Linked DNA regions of Homo sapiens: region 1 is linked to region 2. Evidence: promoter capture Hi-C in human tissues and cell types (Jung and others, 2019). All regions are on one chromosome and are shown on one strand. Each heading gives the region's core, a stretch centred on a gene start or on the middle of the fragment in contact. The rest is flanking DNA. Distances are from core to core; before and after follow the strand shown.

Evidence for each region. The method cuts DNA at HindIII sites, captures the fragments that hold promoters and counts their contacts. A contact is called where the count stands out against the background at its distance.
Region 1: a fragment that was not itself captured here is called in contact with the fragment with the promoter of RANBP17 in region 2 in 1 of the 25 tissues and cell types used here (mesendoderm cells).

Annotation. Positions count from the first base shown.
Region 1 is chr5:170,730,019-170,735,580 of GRCh38, reverse strand. KCNIP1 (potassium voltage-gated channel interacting protein 1) reads right to left here. Exons shown (of 8, transcript NM_014592.4): 6 at 2,677-2,781; 7 at 1,683-1,745. Among named protein-coding and RNA genes, the nearest start is that of GABRP, 51 kb to the left of the region's middle. The HindIII fragment of the contact is 4,401 bases long and covers 639-5,039 here.
Region 2 is chr5:170,860,728-170,865,855 of GRCh38, reverse strand. RANBP17 (RAN binding protein 17) reads right to left here and starts at 3,838. Exons shown (of 28, transcript NM_022897.5): 1 at 3,805-3,838. The coding sequence starts at 3,822. The HindIII fragment of the contact is 7,494 bases long and covers 1-5,128 here.

The sequences.
Region 1 (5,562 bases), core at 1,590-4,089, 130 kb after region 2:
CACCTGTAGCCTTAAAGAGGAATTCAGAAGAAACAAATCATCTAGTAAAATAGTGAGTTGCTTCTTTTAAGAAGCTCTGAACAATTACATCCACTGAAATGATTATATTTTTTCTCTTTTTATTCTATTAATGTGATTAATTACACTGACCAATTATTGAATGTTAAACCAACCTTGCATTCCTGGAATACTGCTTTAGATCCTACAAATTTTGATAAGTCATATTTTTATTTTATTTTTATTCGAGATATTTTCTTCTCTGAACCATGAATTAGAAGTGTATTGCTTAATACCGAACATTTGAGGATTTTTCTACATTCAATACTATACCTCAGAGAAGAAATAATAGAAAAATGTAAAATACAGAACATGCAATAGAGACATACAGTAAGAAAACCCCCCAAAGCGCTCTCTTTCAAAAAAATCAATAAAGTAGATAAATGCTTATTAAGACTGCTTTTCAAATTATCAATATCAGAAATGAAAAGGTTAATGTCAGTATAGGCTTATTTGGCTCATTATTCTGGCAGCTGGAAAGTTCAGCTGGGCATCTGCATCTGGTGAGGGTTTCAGGCTGCTTCCACTCACAGTGGAATGTGAAGGGAAGCTGGGTGTGCAGAGATCCCATGGTGGGAGAGGAATCAAGGTTGGAGGTGGGGAAGGTGCCAGGCTGTTTTACAACCAGCTCTCAAGGGAATTAACAGTGAGAACTCACCCCCAAGGGGGTCAGTGTTCATTCCATTCTAGTTGTTAAATATCTTGGATATCACCCTGCACATAGGACATCTACATAACAGGGTGGCTGTGATGTTTATGTATGTGCTTGAAACTTGATGGGGGCTCAGTATCTGCTAGGAACTTCTCCCCGGCTTTCTTACATTTGCTATTCTTCTTGGCTGGAGCTCAGAGTAACTCTGAACATTTCTAAAATAATGTGGGGGTACAAATGGATTTCTCAAAAGTAGATGAAGCAATTATTTCCAGTTCAGTCTCTGGTGGACTCTGGGGCTGGTCTATTGGTTAGACTTAATGAAAGTTGTGTTCCCAGGATCAGCATCACCAGTGTGACTGGGGAGAATGTGAGAAAAGTAACATCTCAGGCCCTACCCCAGACCTATGGAATTAGAATCTGCATTTTAACAAAATCATCAAGGATATTGTTTCACACATTAAAGTGTTAGAAGCATTGGTCCAGGACATTTGTGTTAAAGTGACCCAGATCTAGAGTCTCTGGGATTGAGGCCTGGAAATATGCATTTTCAGAATCATTCCAGGCAATTTTTATGCACACTGTGGTTTGAGAATCACACAATTGTAGGTTTTTTTCCCCCCAGCTGCTTCCTTGTAGTCTGGGAAATGGGTCATCAAGCCAGAGGCAGGCTAAAAAATAATGGTGTTGCCCTCTCGGGAAGTCTATTTTCACAGAGACCCCCTCTGAGTTTTCACATGCCCCCAGACCCCTACTTAGGCTCTCTGTTCAGTCTTGTGCTTAGCCAAGACCAACTGCAGGTCAGGTTGAGGAGTGGAACTGTGGACTTCACAGTTGTTGCTGGTGTTGTTGGCTCTGATGGGAGGGGTTGCAGGTATGTGCAGGTTTCTCATCACCTTCCTTCTGCAGGTCCCCAGGCCCCAGGTTTCCTTTCCCAGATGTAGAGTTATTGTGCCCTGAGATCTCTCCTTACCTCCTGACATGATTCAAGAAATTCATCTAAAGTTACGATGCCATCTTTATTTTTGTCCATTTTCTGAAAGACATAACAGAAAGCACTTTACAGAATCTGGTGATCTCCATTCCAAAGCTTACTCCCCTGCTTTCTTGCTGGAGCTCAGAGTAACGAGCTGGAGCTCATTTCATTCATTTCATTAACCAACTTTGCCCTGAGAATGAGAGTTGTCTTTCACTGGCCAGACAACTCCAATTAGGTCCTGATTACAACACTTTGAGCCCCATGAGCTTCCTTAAATCAAAAGACTTGCTCTGGACACTCATCACCTCACTGCTGGCTTATTCTGCTTCTTCTGTAGACTCCCTGCTACCCTGTCCATCTGGCAGAACACTGGGCAAAAGAGGTTCTGATTCTGGCCTGTTACTTGCTGTACAAACTTGCACAAGGCCAGAGAGGACTCTCTTTTCCCATCTGCAAAGTGGGAGGTTGAACTAGAGTGAACTCTTGATATTCTCTGATACTCCACCGCTAGATTAATTTTTTCCTAAAATGCCCCAATGATTATACCACTCCCTTAGTCAAGGATCAGCACTAGCTGCCCATCCTGTACCAGAGCAAGGCCAAACTCTTCCATTTAAAGGTCTCATAATCTGGCCCTATCCTAGTTTCCAATCTTATTTCCCCTTACTTCCCAGACACAAATGCTTAACACCTCCACAGTTGTAATTAATGAAGTCTTTCGTGTTTACCCTGATCCCCAAATTTTTATGGATTTAGAGTTCATACTATACCACTAGCGTTTAATAATATACTTTCTTGTTCTCTTCTGTCATGTACACTTGCAGCTTAAGGAGATCATCTGTTTCTTGAGGACAATGTATCTTATAATTCTTTTCTGTTACCAACCATGCTTAGTACAGGGTTGGACACAAATCATTTGCTCAGATGCTCGTGGGTTGACTTGATCTAGGCTGGGCTTACAGCTCATGTGCAGGGTGTGTGCACTTACCTGGAAGAAGACGTCCACATGCTGCCTTGGAGTGTCCTCTTTGAGCACAGGATATGTGTATTTCCCCATCATGTCATAGATGGCTTTGACAATGTCCATCATCTCCTGGAGCAGGGACATAAAAGCACACAGTGTGGAAACCATGAGGTCAAGCTCTTCCTAGGTGACAGAGTTTGGGGCTCCTTGTGCCCCTTGGCAATGAAAGTGATTAAAAGGTGAGGTCCTTCTTTAGCAGGTGATAGGGAGTTAGAAGCAAGCAGAAGGGGATATATTGTGGGAGCCCTTCTTAGAGAGGAGATGGTAGACAATTCCTAAATCCCTCAGAAGCTCATGGGTAGGTTACCTTGTTATGGGCATTGTCTTCAGTGGGGGGTGATTTGTGGGATCCCCATTCACAGGCTTGAGGCAAATAAAATACTATTCTGAATTTTTAAAAAGTTAATGTTCTAGCCTAGAGATTTAAAAATCCCCATAGTTTCTGCCACTGTTTTCAGTTAAGAAAAATGAACCAACAGCCAAGATTATCCACAGGGCACATGAGGCCAATAGTTCCACAGACTGAGGCCCTTATTAAAAAGATCAGTTCTCAAGTCCACTCCAAACCTATTGAATCAGAGAACCTTAGGACTCGGTCCTGAGAGTTTCCGTGTTTATCAAGGTACATTGGGAACCATTATTCTGACCATTCTGGCCCAACTCAGAATGGGGGTAAAAGAGCATTTGGGATGTTTGACCTGGTTTCTACAGAGACCCAGGGGACAGTCTCATTCCATGTGCTTATTTTATTTTATTTTTTGTTTAATTTTTGCATATTATGAATAATTTTAGACTTACAGAAAATTTACAAAATTAGTACAGAGAGTTCATGCATACCTTTCACTCAGTCTCCTCTAATGTTAACAACTTGCATAACCAGAGCACAATGACCAAACCCAGGAAATTAACATGGCTTCACTATTATTAACTAAACTACAGGGCTTATTCAAATTTTATCAGCTTTTCTTTTTTTTTTTTTTTTTTTTTTTTTTTTTTGAGACGGAGTCTCGCTCTGTGGCCCAGGCTGGAGTGCAGTGGCGGGATCTCAGCTTTTCAACTAATATTTTTTTCCCTTCAATGATTCTACATTGCATTTATTTGTTGTGTCTCCTTAGTCTCTTCTAATCTGTATGAGTTTCTCATTCTTTTTTTCTTTTTTCTTTTTTTTTTTTTTTGAGACAGGTTCTTGCTCTGTCACCCAGGCTGGAGTGCAGTGGCACAATCCCCGTCACTGCAGCCTCGACCTCCCGGGTTCAAGTGATCCTCCCGCCTCAGCCTCTCAAGTAGCTGGGACTACAGGCAAGTGCCACCACACCTGGCTAATTTTTTGTAGAGATGGGGTTTTGCCATGTTGCCCAGGCTGGTCTCAAACTCTTGGACTCAAGTGATCTTCCTGCCTCTGCCTCCCAAAGTGCTGGGATTATAGGCATGAGCCACCATGCCCAGCCTGAGTTTCTTTGTTTCCTTGTCTTTCAGGACCTCACACTTTTGATATGAGTACAGGTCAGTTGTTTTGTAGAATGTCTCTCAATTTGAGTTAATCCCTGGTTTAGTTATGATTAGATTGAAGTTATGCATTTCTGGCAAGAATACCACAGAAGTGATGGTATAACCTTCTCAGTGCGTCATATCAGGGAGTTACATAGTGTTGAGATGTCTTATTACTGATAATGTTAACCTTGATCACTTGATTAAGGTGGTGTCTGTCAAGTTTCCTTACTGATTTAGTATCTTTCAGTGGATCTTGCCTGCAAAAATTATTACTGTAGTGTTTGCCTGATGGTAATTTTGTATTTCCTTTATTCCTTCTATACTTATTAATTACAATTCTTCTGTAAGGAAGAGCTACCTTCTCTCCTGCATTTATTTATGTATTCAGTTGTTTATTTACATTAGCATGGACTTGTGGGCATTTACCATATTTTACAGGTTATAATCCAGTACTTAATAATTTTTAATTTTGCTCAAATTGCTTTCATTCTGACTATTGGGAACTCCTTCAGGTTGACTCCTGCAGTTTTTTTTTTTTAAGCACTTTTATACCTTCAGCATAATAAAGTACTCCAGGCTCATCTTGTATTTTCTCTTTCCCAATCTTAGAATCAACTATTCTTCAAGAAGACTGGTTCTGTTTATCGAAGAATGGTATTTAGAAATCAAAGTCTAGGTACTAGTATGCTCACTGCTACAGGGATGTCATTGCTCTGAGGTGCCCTCAACAGATAGAACGAGGAAATAGATGTCTCTATCCATGTGTTTATTTTTAAATGTGTGCTTTACAAGCCCTTCACATCTACATGGCCATTGATGCTTTTCCTGTCTGATATTTTTTTTTAATCACAGAAAGAGCAATTTTGTTGCTCTCTCAGGATTTTCATAGCCTACAACTTGGATGAGGTTATCTCCAAATGATTGCCAGGGGAAGATCCTGCTATCTTTTCTGAGAAGCTACTTATCCACACTTTCTTTTTCTTTTAAGGGGTACTTTATTAACTCTGCCCTCCAGAGAGGTCTGATAGATTAATGGGGAGAATTCTGCCTAGTTTGCAAATTACAAAAAGGGAGTAGGCACTAGTAAGTTTATTCAGTGATGGAATAATGAGTGAACCAAAGTTGAAGACCAACTAAATCCTATTTCTGTATTTTTTTCTTTATATGTTTTGCAAGGTAGTATTTGAATATTTTAGAGTATCATATATTTGCATGTGTATATAAGCATTTAGTTGTTTATAAAATTGAGATATCATACATACCACTTTATCAATTTAAAATGTAATATATTTAAAAATTTAATATATCATACTAATGTTTATTTTATATTACTCTTTCATGATTTTAAGTGGCCACTGG
Region 2 (5,128 bases), core at 2,589-5,088:
TTAATCTGTATCCTGTCCCTGTAACAAACTGCAACTGAGTATGACAACTTTCGGTGAATTCTGTGAGTCAACTACTGAACCTGAGGGTGGTTTTGGGAAACCCCCAAACTTGCACTTGGTCTGAGAAGAAAGGGCAGTCTTGTGGACTCTGCCCTCTAATCTCAGTATGGCTAATTCCAGGGACATACCTAATTTGTCATAAAGTCCTCCCAATTATTCTTCTATAAAGACTCAACTCAACACCTCCCCCTGATATTCACAGACAGTAGATCAAGCAATATTTTCTAACTGTGGCTGCCAGGGCCAGGGATTTCTCAAGCTGCTCTGGGAATGCGAGTAGAGAGTAGTGGGGTCTTAGAAATGTCATGGTTCGATTTGAAAACCACTGGTCCAACAGAGTGGACACAACCTTTGGAATCTGCCACTCACTTATTAAGTGACCTCGGGCAAATAATTTAACCTTTCTAAGCCTTGCTGTTAAAACTGCAAACAGGGCCGGGCGCGGTGGCTCACTCCTGTAATCCTAGCACTTTGGGAGGCCGAAGTGGGCGGATCACCTGAGGTCAGGAATTCGAGGTCAGCCTGGCCAACATGGAGAAACCCTGTCTCTACTAAAAATACAAAAATTAGCAGGGCATGGTGGCTTGCAACTGTAATCCCAGCTACCCAGGAGGCTGAGGCAAGAGAATCACTGGAACCCGGGAGGCAGAGGCTGCAGTTAGCCGAGATTCCACCACTGCACTCCAGCCTGGGCGAGCAAGATTCTGTCTCAAAAAACAAACGACAACAACAACAACAACAAACCTGCAAACAGCAATATCTACCTTCCAAACTAATTGTAGAATGAAGATAGAAAAGATGGGGAAAGCCTAATCCAGTGCCTGCCATACAGAAGATCCACAATAAATCATAAATAATCTCTCCAGTTACTGGTGAATATAAAAGACCATACGGATCTTCCATAGTTTCTCCCATTCAAGTCCACACTGCCAGAATGGTCATTCCCACATACCTTTTCTCATGTTATAATTGCATTTAAAAATAATAGTTCTCAATCACATCTAGATCAAATCAGGTAGCTTGACTGGAGATTAAGAAGCATGGCTATATTTCCTGCTTCTTAAACAGTCCTGAGCAAAAAAGTTGGATCAACTGAGTCCCTTAAATTTTTCCTAACATTCTCTCGATTCTTACCAAGGTACCTCTGTTCTACCTAAAGTGCCTACCTCTTACTTCTTCTCAATTCTTTTTCCTCACTCTGCCCCCTTATCTGGATTGCCTGTCAGGGAATCCAGACCCATTAATTCCTTTGGGACAGGGTATCGTAATTCACAGCTTCCTAACCAGAATGCAACTGCTTTGAATGATTCACAGGTATGCCTGAGATATTGATCCCTCTGCCCTCCAAGCATTAGGAGCAGAGCTTGAGACATTGGGGAAAGTGCACACTGATGGCCTTTGGCAATGAGCGGTTTATGTTAATGAGACACACAATTAACATTTTTTATGTATGTCATGATGTGAAAAAGATGTTGACCACTACCCTAACCTCACCCTACACAAATCTGCTTCTTTACTCATCATCTTGATGGTATAATTTTTGCCTAGCTGCCCTTTTGGGTAGGTGACAGTAAGACAGAGGTAATGGGGAACACGGAACTTATGAGTTATGAGGCCTACTCTAACTCTGTAACGTTGGGCAAGTCACAACTGTTTTAAGACTCAGTGTCTTCAGAATGAAACGTATATATGCACACTTTTTAAGTTAGTGGCAGGGCTCACCTCTATAATGAGGATATGAAAACTCAAAATGCTAGGTACTGGTTATCACTATTAACAAATGTTCCTTGAGTTAACTGATTAACAATATGATCCTATATGCTAAAAAGAATTCAAACGGAGAAATTTCAGTTTTTTTCTAGTCAACAAAACTGTCTGATCTTTTATTTGTCCAACTCCGCTTTTAAGCTGTCTACAGGAATGTACTGTGAAGTACTTATGTTGGAATGTACTGTGAAGTACATTCCTGCAAAACCAATATGGGTAGTTTTGACATCAGCAGCTAACTTTTCCAACACTGTGCCTAAATATGAAGAAGTCTTCCAGGGCTTGGTGATTTAACTGTACATCACCTTTCCATGTATGAAAAAATTCCAAAGTTCCACCATACCTTTTAATTTACTCTCAAGATTTACTCGGGCTCTGTGAACATCTGATTACCTATTTACAATCCATAAATCCTCCTTGTAAGATTCTTCCTGTGAAAATTTCCCAGAGGGCATATTTACTAAAGTGGTAATACATTATTTTGACCTGAGGACCCTTAGAAATGGCATGAAGTCAAAAGGTAATGTGTCGGGCTTACTACATAACATTCTAGAACTGTCGATTATCAGACAGTAACTGGTTTTAAAAAAAAGACCCTTTAGAAGAATCAATAAATCAGCCAAGTTATAAATCAGTGTGATCACAGGGGGTTCAAAAGAGTCTACAAGGGGAATGAGATTCTTAGATACACTGTCACCATATTATGAAATTCCCTTCCCTCCCTGGGGTCATCTCCTGCCACCCACTGCCTCCCCTGATCCCATCCCTTTGTCCCAACCAGACTCAACTTTCTGCAGTACACCATGTTCTTCCACAATTCTTTGCCTTGGCTCACACGTCCTTCTACCTCCATATCCTTCCCTTCCTCTTCACCTGGCAAACAACTACGACTCTTTCAAGGACCAGTAGACTGCAAGTTCCCTGAGAGTAGAAACCATAGTTTTGTTCAGAGCTGTTGTATCTTCAGCGCCTAGCATAGTAGGCGCTCAATAATTAATAAATGGAAGAATGGAGGCTCAAAGAATCTTAAAGCATCTCTCAGCTAAGAGCATAGCAGCTCTGCTTCACTCCTTCTCAACATACACATTTGGCTGGCTACCCCCTTTTCTGTGCTATGATACTGTGACTATTTCTACCATACATTTTTCACTTGTACTGTAATTCTCTGTTAACTGTATGAGGGCGAGGATAGTAAGATGTCATCCTTTATCCCCAGAACTTTCCACAATGCTTGAGACACAGTGGGGAGATAATAAATGTTTGCTGAATAACTGAACGGGGATGTCAGAGCAGCCCGAGGATATACAAGCACGCGTCCCATCTTCGTAGCCTCTGCGATCCTCGCGTCCGCGCCCGCGCCCGCGCCCGGCCCGGGTTTCCTCCTCCGAAGAGGCGGCCGCGTAGCCCTCCCTCGCAACTCCCCCCAGACGCAGCCCCTGTCTCCTCTGGCCAATTAAAGTCCAACCGCTGCCGCCGCTCCTTCGGTGGATCCCAAGCCCCCGCTCCGGCTGGGGCTCAACTGTGTGGAGGGAGGCTGACGATAGAGCCGCGCCGGCGACGCGGCGGGAAGGCGGGAAGGCTGCTCCACCGCTCGGCAGCCGCGCGAGGCGCGCCAAAGCCGGCCCAGCTGGGACTCCCACCTGCCCTGGCAACACTAAAGCCGCGGTCAGCGAGCGTGCTGCCGGCGTCCGCACCTTCCCCGGGACGAGCCCTGGGCCTGTCCCCCGCCCCCTCCACCCGCCGCCTCCAACCCAGGCTCGGCCGCCCCTTTCTCGGGCTCCGGCCCGGGCCTGGGGTGTGCAGCCCAGACCAGTGTCCCGGTCCCCGGCTAGGGGCAGAGGCAGGGGCTGGGACTCCGGGGACACCGGCCCACGGCCCTGCGGCCTCCGCCGCTGTCCTCGGCCCTCGGTCTCCAGACGCGTCCCGCCGGGTTCCCAGCGTGGCGGAGCGCGGGCCCGCGGCGCAGAGCACACTGACCTGGAAGTGCAGCGCCATCTTCCCAGGAGGCGGCGCCGGCCAGCCGGCCGGTCGGCACCCAGCGCCCGAGGGGAGGGAGCAGAGGCGGGCGCCGCGGAAGCCCCAGACGCCCGCGGGGTCCCTGCGCCGCTCGTCCTTCGCAGCCTCAGCCAGGCTTCGCGTCCGCATTCGAAGCGCTGGAGGGGCGGGGCTGGGAGGGACGGGGCGGGGCTGGGAGGGACGGGGCGGGGCGACGGAGGCGGTGCACGGGGCGGGGCCGATAGGGGCGTGTCCTCCGGGAATCTCAACCGTCCCTTGCGCTCAAGTTTCAACCGGCGTGTGTTGGTGGGTCATGACCTCCAACCTCTGCCCTTTGACACAACTACCACGACCCACCCGTCAGCCGTGGACCCTGACTCATAAGTCTTCCAAAGGCTCTCTTGACCCCTGACCCTCAAAATACAACTATCGCCCATGGCTCCCGACACCTGCATCTCCACAGATTTTCTTGTCTCCTAACAGCCAGGAACCACAGACACACACAGCCATAACCTTTGACTCCCACATGCCAGCTGTTGCCCTTGACCCCTGACTCCCAGGGCCCAAATTCCATTGTTGCTTAACAATGTTTTTAACTTGATTTTGGTTAAAATTAAACCGCCCATGTCTACATGCTGTTAAGTTGTAAAATTCAAGCTTTACCTCATTCTTTGTCTGCATTTTGTTTAATATGAACTTATATTTTACAACAAATGATTCCACTGCAATGAGAATTTATTGGAGCAGAATTGGGTCAAAGTTGCTGCTTTCTGATGTTCTCCGTTTTTTCTTCAAGTTCAGCATTTCCATTTGGGAGCACTGTGCTGTAGTATTTAAGAGGGAAACTCCCTTAAGCACTTCTTGTATTCAGGTCTGCTAACAACAAAGTCTCTCAGCTTTTGTTAACATAAAATCATCTTAATTCACCTTCATTTTTTAAAGGATAGTTTTGCTGGGTATAGAATTTCACATTGGCTTTTTTTTTAATCTTTCAGCATTTTAAAAATGTCTTCTCATTGTCTTCTGCTTGTCATTGTTTCTATTGAGAAATCAGCCATCAGTCTAATTGTTGCTCCTGTCTTTTGGCCCCCTCCTCAGGTACTTGAACATTTTTCTCTTTTTTTATTTTTTCTTTTTGTCTTCAGCACTTTGTGCTTGATGTCGCTAAGTGTGTGTGTGTGTGTGTGTTGTATTTATCCTGCTTGGGATTCATAAAGCTCTTTAAGTGTGAATGTAATCTTTTTTATCAAGTTTTGAAAAATCTTGGTCACTAGTTCTTTAAATATTGCATCTGTCCCCTTCTCTC